Linked DNA regions of Homo sapiens: region 1 is linked to region 2. The links are contacts of gene promoters, found by promoter capture Hi-C in human tissues and cell types (Jung and others, 2019). All regions are on one chromosome and are shown on one strand. The core of a region is centred on a gene start or on the middle of the fragment in contact, and the rest is flanking DNA. Distances in the headings are between cores, read along the strand shown. Region 1 overlaps CDKL3 (cyclin dependent kinase like 3). Region 2 holds the start of CDKL3 (cyclin dependent kinase like 3).

Region 1 (4,463 bases), core at 1,048-3,547, 44 kb after region 2:
CTCCAAAGTAGCTGGGACTACAGGCATGAGCCACCAAGCCCTGCCACTTTTTATTTGTTTATATTCAGGGACTTTAATTTTTAGACCAGTTTTAGGCTCCAGAAGAATTGAACAGAAAGTGTAGTTTCCTTATGTCCCCTCCACCCTACTCCACACATTTCTCTATTACTAACATCTTGTATTAGTGTGGTACATTTGTTACAATTGATGTACCAATATTGAACATTATTAACTAAATTCCATAGTTTAGAGTTTACTCTGTGTTGTATTTCCTGGGTTTTGATAAATGTATAATGTCATGTATCCATCATTATAGTATCATACAGAATAATTTTATGGTCCTAAAAATCTTCTGTGCTTCGTTTTTATTCTTCCGTCCCTCTCCCAGAACTGCTGGCAATCATTGGTCTTTTTACTGTTACTATACTTTAGGCTTTTCCAGAATATCATATAGTTGGAATCACATAGTATGTAGCTTTTTCAGACTGGCTTCTTTGACCTAGCAATATATATTTAAGGTTCCTCCTTTTTTTTTGGTATCTTGACAGCTCACTTCTCTTTTATTGCTAAATAATATTCCATTGTATGTATGTACCACAGTTTGTTTATCCACTCACCTATTGAAGGACATCTTTATTGCTTCCATGTGTTGGCAATTATGAAGCAAGCTGTTATAAGCATTCGTGTCCAGGTTTTTATGTGGACAGAAGTGTTCTACTCACTTGGGTAAATCCCAAGGAGAGCAATTGCTGGGTTGTATGGTAAGACTATGTTTAGCTTTGTTAGAAGCTGTCAAATTGTCCTCCAAAGTGACTGTGTAATTTTGTGTTTCTACCAGCAATGAATGAGAGTACCTGTTGTTTGCCATCCTCACCTGCATTTGATGTTGTCAGTATTTTGGATTTTAGGCATTCTAATAGGTGTGTAGTGGTATCTCGTTGTTTTAATTTGCAATTGTCTGATGACATATGATACTGGGCATCTGTTAATATGCCCATTTGCCATCTGTATATTTTCTTTGGTGAAATGTATATTCTTATATTTTGCCCATTTTTTAATTGGGTTATTTTCTTATTGAATTTTAAGAGTTTTATGTATTTTGGATACAAGTTCTTTATTATTTTGCAAATATTTTCTCGCAGTTTGTGGCTTGTCTTTTTATTTGCTTAACAGTATCTCTCATGGAGCAGAAAAGTTTAGTTTTAGTGAAGTTCTAACTATCAATTTTTTCTTTTGTGAATTATACTTTTGGTGTTGTATCTAAAAACTCATTACCAAACCTAAGGCCATCTAGATTTTTTCCTATGTGATTGTCTAGAGGTTTTACAGTTTTGCATTTTATATTTAGGTCTATCATCTATCTTGAGTTAATTTTTGTGAAAGGGATAAGGTCTGTGTCTAGATTCAGTTTTTTGTATGTTCCAGCACTATTTGTTGAAAAGACTGTCTTTTTTTTATCTTATTATTCAATTGCCTCTGTTCCTTTGTCAAAAATCAGTTGAGCACATTTGTGCAAGTCTATTTCTGGGTTCTTTATTCTGTTCCCTTGATCTATTTATCTATTCTTTCACCAATACCATACTATCTTGCTTGTTGTATAAAACATCTTGAAGTCAAGTAGTGTCAGTCTTTGTTCTTTTTCAAATTGTGTTGGCTATTCTGGGTCTATTGCCTCTCCATATAAACTTTGCAATCAATTGTCAATATCTACAAAACAATTTCCTAGGATTTTTAAAAATTTACAGATTAAATTGTATGTATTTATTGTGTACAGCATGATGTTTTGAGGTATATATATACGTTGTGAAATGACTAAATTTGGCTAATTTACATATGTGTGTTACCTCACATAATTATCAATTTTTAATTTACTGGGATTTTGTCTGGGATTGTATTGACTCTACATAAAGCTTGGAAGAACTGACATCTTGACAATATTGAGTCTTCCTATTGATGAACATGGAGTATCTCTCCATTTATTTAGATCTTTTATTTCTTTCATGAATGTTGCTTTTTTCACTTGACAGTTTATCTTGGAGATCATTCCATTTCAGCACATATAGATAGACCTACCTCATCAATTTTTTTTTTTTTTTGAGACTGAGTTTTGCTCTTGTTGCCCAGGCTAGAGTGCAATGGCATGATCTCGGCTCACCACAACCTCCACCTCCCGGGTTCAAGTGATTTTCCTGCCTCAGCCTCCTGAGTAACTGGGATTACAGGCATGTGCCACCACACCCGGCTAATTTTGTATTTTTAGTAGAGACGAGGTTTTTCCATGTTGGTCAGGCTTGTCTCGAACTCCTGACCTTGTGATCTGCCTGCCTTGGCCTCCCAAAGTGCTGGGATTACAGGCATGAGCCACAGTGTCCAGCCAGACCTCATCATTTTTAACAGATGAATAATATTTTATTGTGGGGTTGTACAAAAATTTTCTTAGCCATTCCCTTATAGGTGGAGGTCTAGGTTGTTTCCAATCTTTTTCTTCTACGAACAGTGCTGCAGTGAAATTCTCATATAATTTATATTTGTGCACACATGTGAGTATATCTTAGGATAAATTCCTAGGAATAAAATTGTACAATAAAAAATATATACAATTTAAATTTTGGTGGCTTTTGCCAATTTTTCCTCCAAAGAAGTCATATAAGTTTACACTCCCAGAACAGTACTTAGGACTATTCCTTTCCTATAGCCTCACCAATATAGCAATTACCAATTCTTATAAAGTCGGTATATGATCTACAATAAAAACTTACAAATGGGCCAGGCGTGGTGGCTCACACCTGTAATCCCAGCACTTTGGGAGGCTGAGGCGGGCAGATCACGAGGTCAGGAGTTTGAGACCAGCCTGGCCAACATGGTGAAACCCCATCTCTACTAAAAATACAAAAATTAGCCACATGTGGTGGCACACGCCTCTAATCCCAGCTACTTGGGAGGCTGAGGCAGGAGAATTGCTTGAACCCGGAGGTTGCAGTGAGCTGAGATTGCAGCACTTGCACTCCAGCCTGGGTGACAGAGCAAGACTCGGTCTCGAAAAAAAACAAAACAAAACTTAAAATGATACTACTTGTTTCTTTAGCCTTGGCCTTCTTTAAACATATTTTTAAGAATATATTTATAAATTTCTACATGAAAAAGTGATTTTTTTTTCCCTGATCTGTTTCAGACCTGTGGATATCTGGGCTTTGGGCTGTATGATCATTGAGATGGCCACTGGAAATCCCTATCTTCCTAGTAGTTCTGATTTGGATTTACTCCATAAAATTGTTTTGAAAGTGGGTAGGTATTACTGAAATAACATGAGTTACATGTCTAAAATAAATATTGCCAGATCAATTCTGCTTGATTTTCAAATTTAGCTTTTCTGTGTAAGTACAGGGAAGCATATTGTTTTGATAGATGGCAGCAGATGGGTTCCTTGGGCTGATAAAGAAGGCAGAAAATTCTCTGCTTTAGCAAATAATATTTTCTTTGCTAGGATGCAAATAGCTAAGCCATATGTTGATGGTTGATGCTAAGAAAAATAGTACAATAGGAATGTACTTTAATTTGTCTAAAAGTTGTTTTTAAATTAGGCTTCTACAAATATCTGTACCTTTATATAAGGACTTTAAATAGTAGAGTTGAGTCAGATGCTTTTTTAAAGCACTTGGAAATAGAAAAGTAATTATTTACTCAGAAACCACCCTTCTTTTTAAAGAAAACAATAATAGACAGCCAGATAGCTAAATAACTTATTCAAGAACATATTTGATGAAGGCTGGGCATGGTGGCTTACACCTGTAATCCCTGCACTTTGGGAGGCCAAGGCAGGCGGAGCACCTGAGATCAGGAGTTGGAGACCAACCTGACCAACATAGTGAAACCCCATCTCTACTAAAAATACAAAAAAAATTAGCCAGGTATGGTGACGAGTGCCTGTAATCCCAGTTACTCAGGAGGCTGAGGCATGAGAACTGCTTGAACCCAGGAGGCAGAGGTTGCAGTGAGCCACGATCACGCCACTGCACTCCAGCCTGGGCAACAGAATGAGACTTAGTCTCAAAAAAAAAAAAAAAAAAAAAGAATATGTTTGATGAGAGTTTAATTATTTGATGATCTGCTTTGGCCACCAAAACATTATGATGGTTAGCCTTGAATGTGCTATTTCAAGATTTGTGGGTTTTTTAAATTTTAAATTTAATTTTTTTTTTTTTGAGAGGGAGTCTCGCTCTGTCACCCAGGCTGGAGTGCAGGGGCGCGATCTCAGCTCACTGCAAGCTCTGCCTCCTGGGTTCATGCCATTCTCCTGCCTCAGCCTCCCGAGTAGCTGGGACTACAGGTGCCTGCCACCACACCTGGCTTTTTTTTGTATTTTTAGCAGAGACGGGGTTTCACTGTGTTAGCCAGGATGGTCTCGATTTCCTGACCTCGTGATCCACCCACCTGGGCCTCGCAAAGTGCTGGGAATACAGGCA
Region 2 (4,557 bases), core at 1,211-3,710:
CCACTGAGACCCTGCCTCAAAAAAATCCCGCAACAACCAAAAAAACCCTTGTAATTTATCAGTCAAGGCAGTCACTGAAAGCAGAGACAGAATTCAGGGTTTGAAGAAAGGGAGGTACAAGGAAAGTGGGAAAAGTTAACCCTTTCTGGTTCCATGGAACTATGGGCAAGATTAGGGCAATGCTGAGGTCCTCCTCCTACCCCCTCTTTCCCTGTTGAGCTGACGAATGGATACAAAAGTGCTCAGAGTCCTCCTGACCCACCAACGAAGTCCTGAAGATGGGAACTGGAGGCAATAGAGGTAAGGAATTCAGAGACTACAGGGATTTATAATTGTTTTGGAAACAGTTTATTATTTTCCAAAATGATATAACACTTTTAACTGATTCAGTGAATGTGCATCATAAAGTCTTACAGCTGTGTATTAGCAAGAATCACTGGCTGTCCTTGTTAACCAGGCCTGCCATAACCTACTTGTAGAAGGAATAATTTTAAAGCTATTAACTGTATGCTGTTATCAGTTCTGTAGCTCTGGATTATGAGTTCATTGAGGGCAGGGACTCAGTTTGGTTCATCTTTGTCCTGGGCAAATTTTTTTATTTTTTGAGACAGAGTTTTGCTCTGTCACCCAGGTTGGAGTGCAGTGGTGTGAACAGGGCTCACTGCAGCCTTGACCTTCTGGGCTCCAGTAATTCTCCTTCAGACGCCCAAGTAGCTGGGACCACAGGTGTGCACCACCATGCCCGGCTAATTTTTTGTAGAGATGGAGTTTTGCCCTCTTGCCCAGGCTGGTCTGGAACTCCTGGGCTCAAGTGATCTGCCCACCTTGGCCTCCCTGGGATTACAGGTGTGAGCCACTGTGCGCAGCCTCCTTGCAAATATTTAGCCCACAACAAATAATATGCTTACACCAAGTTTGAGCCCACTATAAGATTTACTATGACATTCTTATTTATAGAAGGTATTTTATATTGTGGTTGAATAACTTTCTTTTTTTTTTTTTTTTTTTTTTTGAGATGGAGTCTCGCTCTGCCACCCAGGCTGGAATGTAGTGGTGCGATCTCCGCTCACTGCAAGCTCCGCCTCCCGGATTCACGCCATTCTCCTGCCTCCGCCTCCCGAGTAGCTGGGACTACAGGCGCCCGCCACCACGCCCAGCTAATTTTTTCTATTTTTTAGTAGAAATGGGGTTTCACCGTGTTAGCCAGGATGGTCTCGATCTCCTGACCTCGTGATCCGCCCGCCTGGGCCTCCCAAAGTGCTGGGATTACAGGCGTTAGCCACTGCGCCCGTCTGAATAACCTTCAAAGAAAAGACAATTCTGAATATTTTAGGTGATCAATGAAAACGATGACCACTTCTCCTTTCTCTCAATATAAACCCTAGCAGCATAGAAAAAACTTGAGAAGCTTCAAAAATACTAATTTATTTACGCTATCCCAATTAAATCAGGTGCTCTGGCATTGGGGCAGGGGTGTGGAGGTGGGGGTTGGGATGCTTTCTAAAAGCTCTCCAGGTGTGATTTAAATATGCATGCTGGGTGGGACCCACCAGACTAGATTTATTAAATAATGCCTTTCCTCTTATTTAGCGGAAGCATAGCGAGATTTCGCTTTTTTACATTTAACTCATTTTATAGAAGAAAGCAAAGAAAGCCCTATTCAATAAAGAAAGCACTCCCTAGGCACTTGGTCTAGTGATATGGTGGTTATTCATTAGGGACTGTCATTCCAGTTGAACTCTATGTCTACTTAAGCAGTTAGACACTGGCCTCTTTATTTCCGTGCTCTTGTACATCATTTCGTATATGGTGGAACTCTTCGAATTACTTGCTTTCCTAGAGTTTGACATGTGGTGAGGGAGGTTTTTTTTCTTTAAAAAAGATTACTAGCAGTTGGAAAAAATTAAAAGGCATATGGCAAGTGTTCAAGAAAAGTTTTTGATTTAAGAACCATCTTGACCGGGGGCGGTGGCTTACGCCTGTAATCCCAGCACTTTGGGAGGCCGAGGCAGGCGGATCACCTGATGTTGGGAGTTCGAGACCAGCCTGGCCAACATGGTAGAAACCCCGTCTCTACTAAAAATACAAAATTATCCGGGCGTGGTGGCACACGCCTGTAATCCCAGCTACTCGGGAGGCTGAGGCAGGAAAATCACTTAAACCTGGAAGGAGGAGGTTGCAGTGAGCCAAGATCAGCGACACTGCAGTCCAGCCTGGGCGACAGAGCTAGACTATCTCAAAAAAAAAAAAAAAAAAAAAAAAGATGCAGATCCTTCCTATCCACATTCAAAAGCAACCTTGTGAGGAGGCTCAGCTGCGACAGCAATCTGTACTCCCCTCCCCCATTCCCAAGCACAGCACTCTTCCACCTTGCGCCTACCCAGAGTAGGTTTCCGTTTCTTCCCACTTCCCCTTCCGGGTCGGGACCCTGCCCATGTTCCGGTCTTGCGCACGAGTCTAGAACGCAGCAACTCCGCCGGCGTTTCCATGGTGGCAAGTGGCCGGTTCCTTGCGGGGCTGAGCAACAAAGTAGTATCAGTGTTCGGTGGCTCCACTGGAACTACGCAGAGCCAGACCAGCGGGACCACAGAATGGGCTGAGGCGGCGGCGGCTGTTTGGATAAAGTCAACAGCGGGACGTGGGGCGTGACGCCGGTCCGGCATCCTAAGACGTGTGGTTTGAGTTGCGGGCGAGACCAGGCTTTTTTTAGGACCTTGGGCCTGATAAGTGGGCGACTGCAGTAGTGCGGGAACCTATTATTTGACAGGAACATGACAGGAAGTGTAGGGACCCCATGCTTGATGGATGGTGACTTATAGTGTGGTAGTCTCAGTGTTGATGGGCATGACCGAGACAGCAGGAGTACCCCTAAGTTCTGGTGAGAGGTGGAGCCTCAGAAGGACACCTTACTCAAGCTGTCTTTAGTTCCCAAAGACAAAAAGGCTCAGTGGAAAAGATTCCTTTTTTTTTTTTAATGTCTCTATATTTGAGACTGTGGGTTTATTGTGGATATGCATTATCTAGTTTTAATAAATAAAAGTATAAACGTTTAACATTTTCCATTTTCTTTCTTTATTTCTATAAAGTAGTAAAAGCCCAGCTTGAAAATGGAGATGTATGAAACCCTTGGAAAAGTGGGAGAGGGAAGTTACGGAACAGTCATGAAATGTAAACATAAGAATACTGGGCAGATAGTGGCCATTAAGATATTTTATGAGAGACCAGAACAATCTGTCAACAAAATTGCGATGAGAGAAATAAAGTTTCTAAAGGTTTGCTTCTTTTGCCTTAATCATCTAAGTCAAAAGAAAAAATTGTTATGGAATAAAAAATTGCATAAAATATTTTAGTTCACACGTACTGATTCATATTATGGAGAAACAAGTGTAATACTCTATCTTATCTACATTTTGTAATTTTATAGTGATACAAGATATATGTGTTTTGGGGTATGTAACAAAAGCTACACCAATATTGTTTAATAATTATTCAGAAATATTCAAGTATAATACTTAATAAAAATTTCTGCTATGTGCAAGGCATGGTGCTAGGTACTGAGACTATAAGGAGGTAAAAGATAGTTCCTGCCCTTAAAGACTTCTATAATTTAATCAGAAAGGAGAGTATATGAAAATCATACTGAATAAAAAGTGGCTCATAATAAATGCCAAGGAATCAACACAAAGTCCTTTCCCTGGTAGGGAAAGTTTTTTTGAGGAAATGGGACATGAATTTGGCTTTGAAGGATGTGGAGGGTTTAGATAAGAGGGAGAAACTGTTGTGTTCTAGGTTAGAGGAACAACATAAACTCAAAAGAGACTAAAGAAGGACAAAGGATAAAGGGCAAAGTGGAAAGGACAAAGAGCAAAGACATGTGCCTGTAGAGTTTTCTGAGCAGAATTGGAAAGAGGTATATTAGAACAGTAAATTGGAGGTAGATTTTAAAGTCTTTTAGGCTAAGGAGTCAAAACTTGATTTTGTAAGAGGTGGAAAGTCGTGAAGGTTTTGAATTCAGTGTAAAGAAATGTAAATTTTAATCTACCACTATTGTGCAGAATAGATTGGAGGACTAAGAGTAAAAATAGGTCTGTTAGGAGTTCAATTAAGGAATTTTGGAAAATGTCTGAGGACCCTTGCTAAAATGCAGCAATGTGAATGAAAAGTAAAGTTAGAACATGCTGTATTGTAAAAAACAAAAAAAAAAGACATGAGGCCGGGTGCGGTGGCTCACGCTTGTAATCCCAGCACTTTGAGAGGCCGAGGCGGGTGGATCACCTGAGGTCAGGGGTTCAAGACCGTCCTGGACAACATAGTGAAACCCCGTCTCTACTAAAAATTAAACAAAAAAAATTAAGGCCGGGTGCGGTGGCTCACGCTCCCAGCGCTTTGGGAGGCTGAGGCGGGTGGATCACGAGGTCAGGAGATCGAGACCATCCTGGCTAACGCGGTGAAACCCCGTCTTTACTAAAAAATACAAAAAATTAGCCGGGCGAGGTGGCGGGTGCTTGTGGTCCCAGCTACTGCGGAGGCTGAGGCAGGAGAATGGCGTGAACCCGG

What was found. The method cuts DNA at HindIII sites, captures the fragments that hold promoters and counts their contacts. A contact is called where the count stands out against the background at its distance.
Region 1: a contact is called between a fragment that was not itself captured here and the fragment with the promoter of CDKL3 in region 2, in 1 of the 25 tissues and cell types used here (pancreas).

What each region holds. Positions count from the first base shown.
Region 1 is chr5:134,320,613-134,325,075 of GRCh38, reverse strand. CDKL3 (cyclin dependent kinase like 3) reads left to right here. Exons shown (of 13, transcript NM_001113575.2): 5 at 3,173-3,285. Among named protein-coding and RNA genes, the nearest start is that of CDKL3, 44 kb to the left of the region's middle. The HindIII fragment of the contact is 3,004 bases long and covers 796-3,799 here.
Region 2 is chr5:134,365,074-134,369,630 of GRCh38, reverse strand. It overlaps CDKL3 (cyclin dependent kinase like 3), which reads left to right and starts at 2,460. Exons shown (of 13, transcript NM_001113575.2): 1 at 2,460-2,654; 2 at 3,087-3,272. The coding sequence starts at 3,108. The HindIII fragment of the contact is 10,082 bases long and covers 1-4,557 here.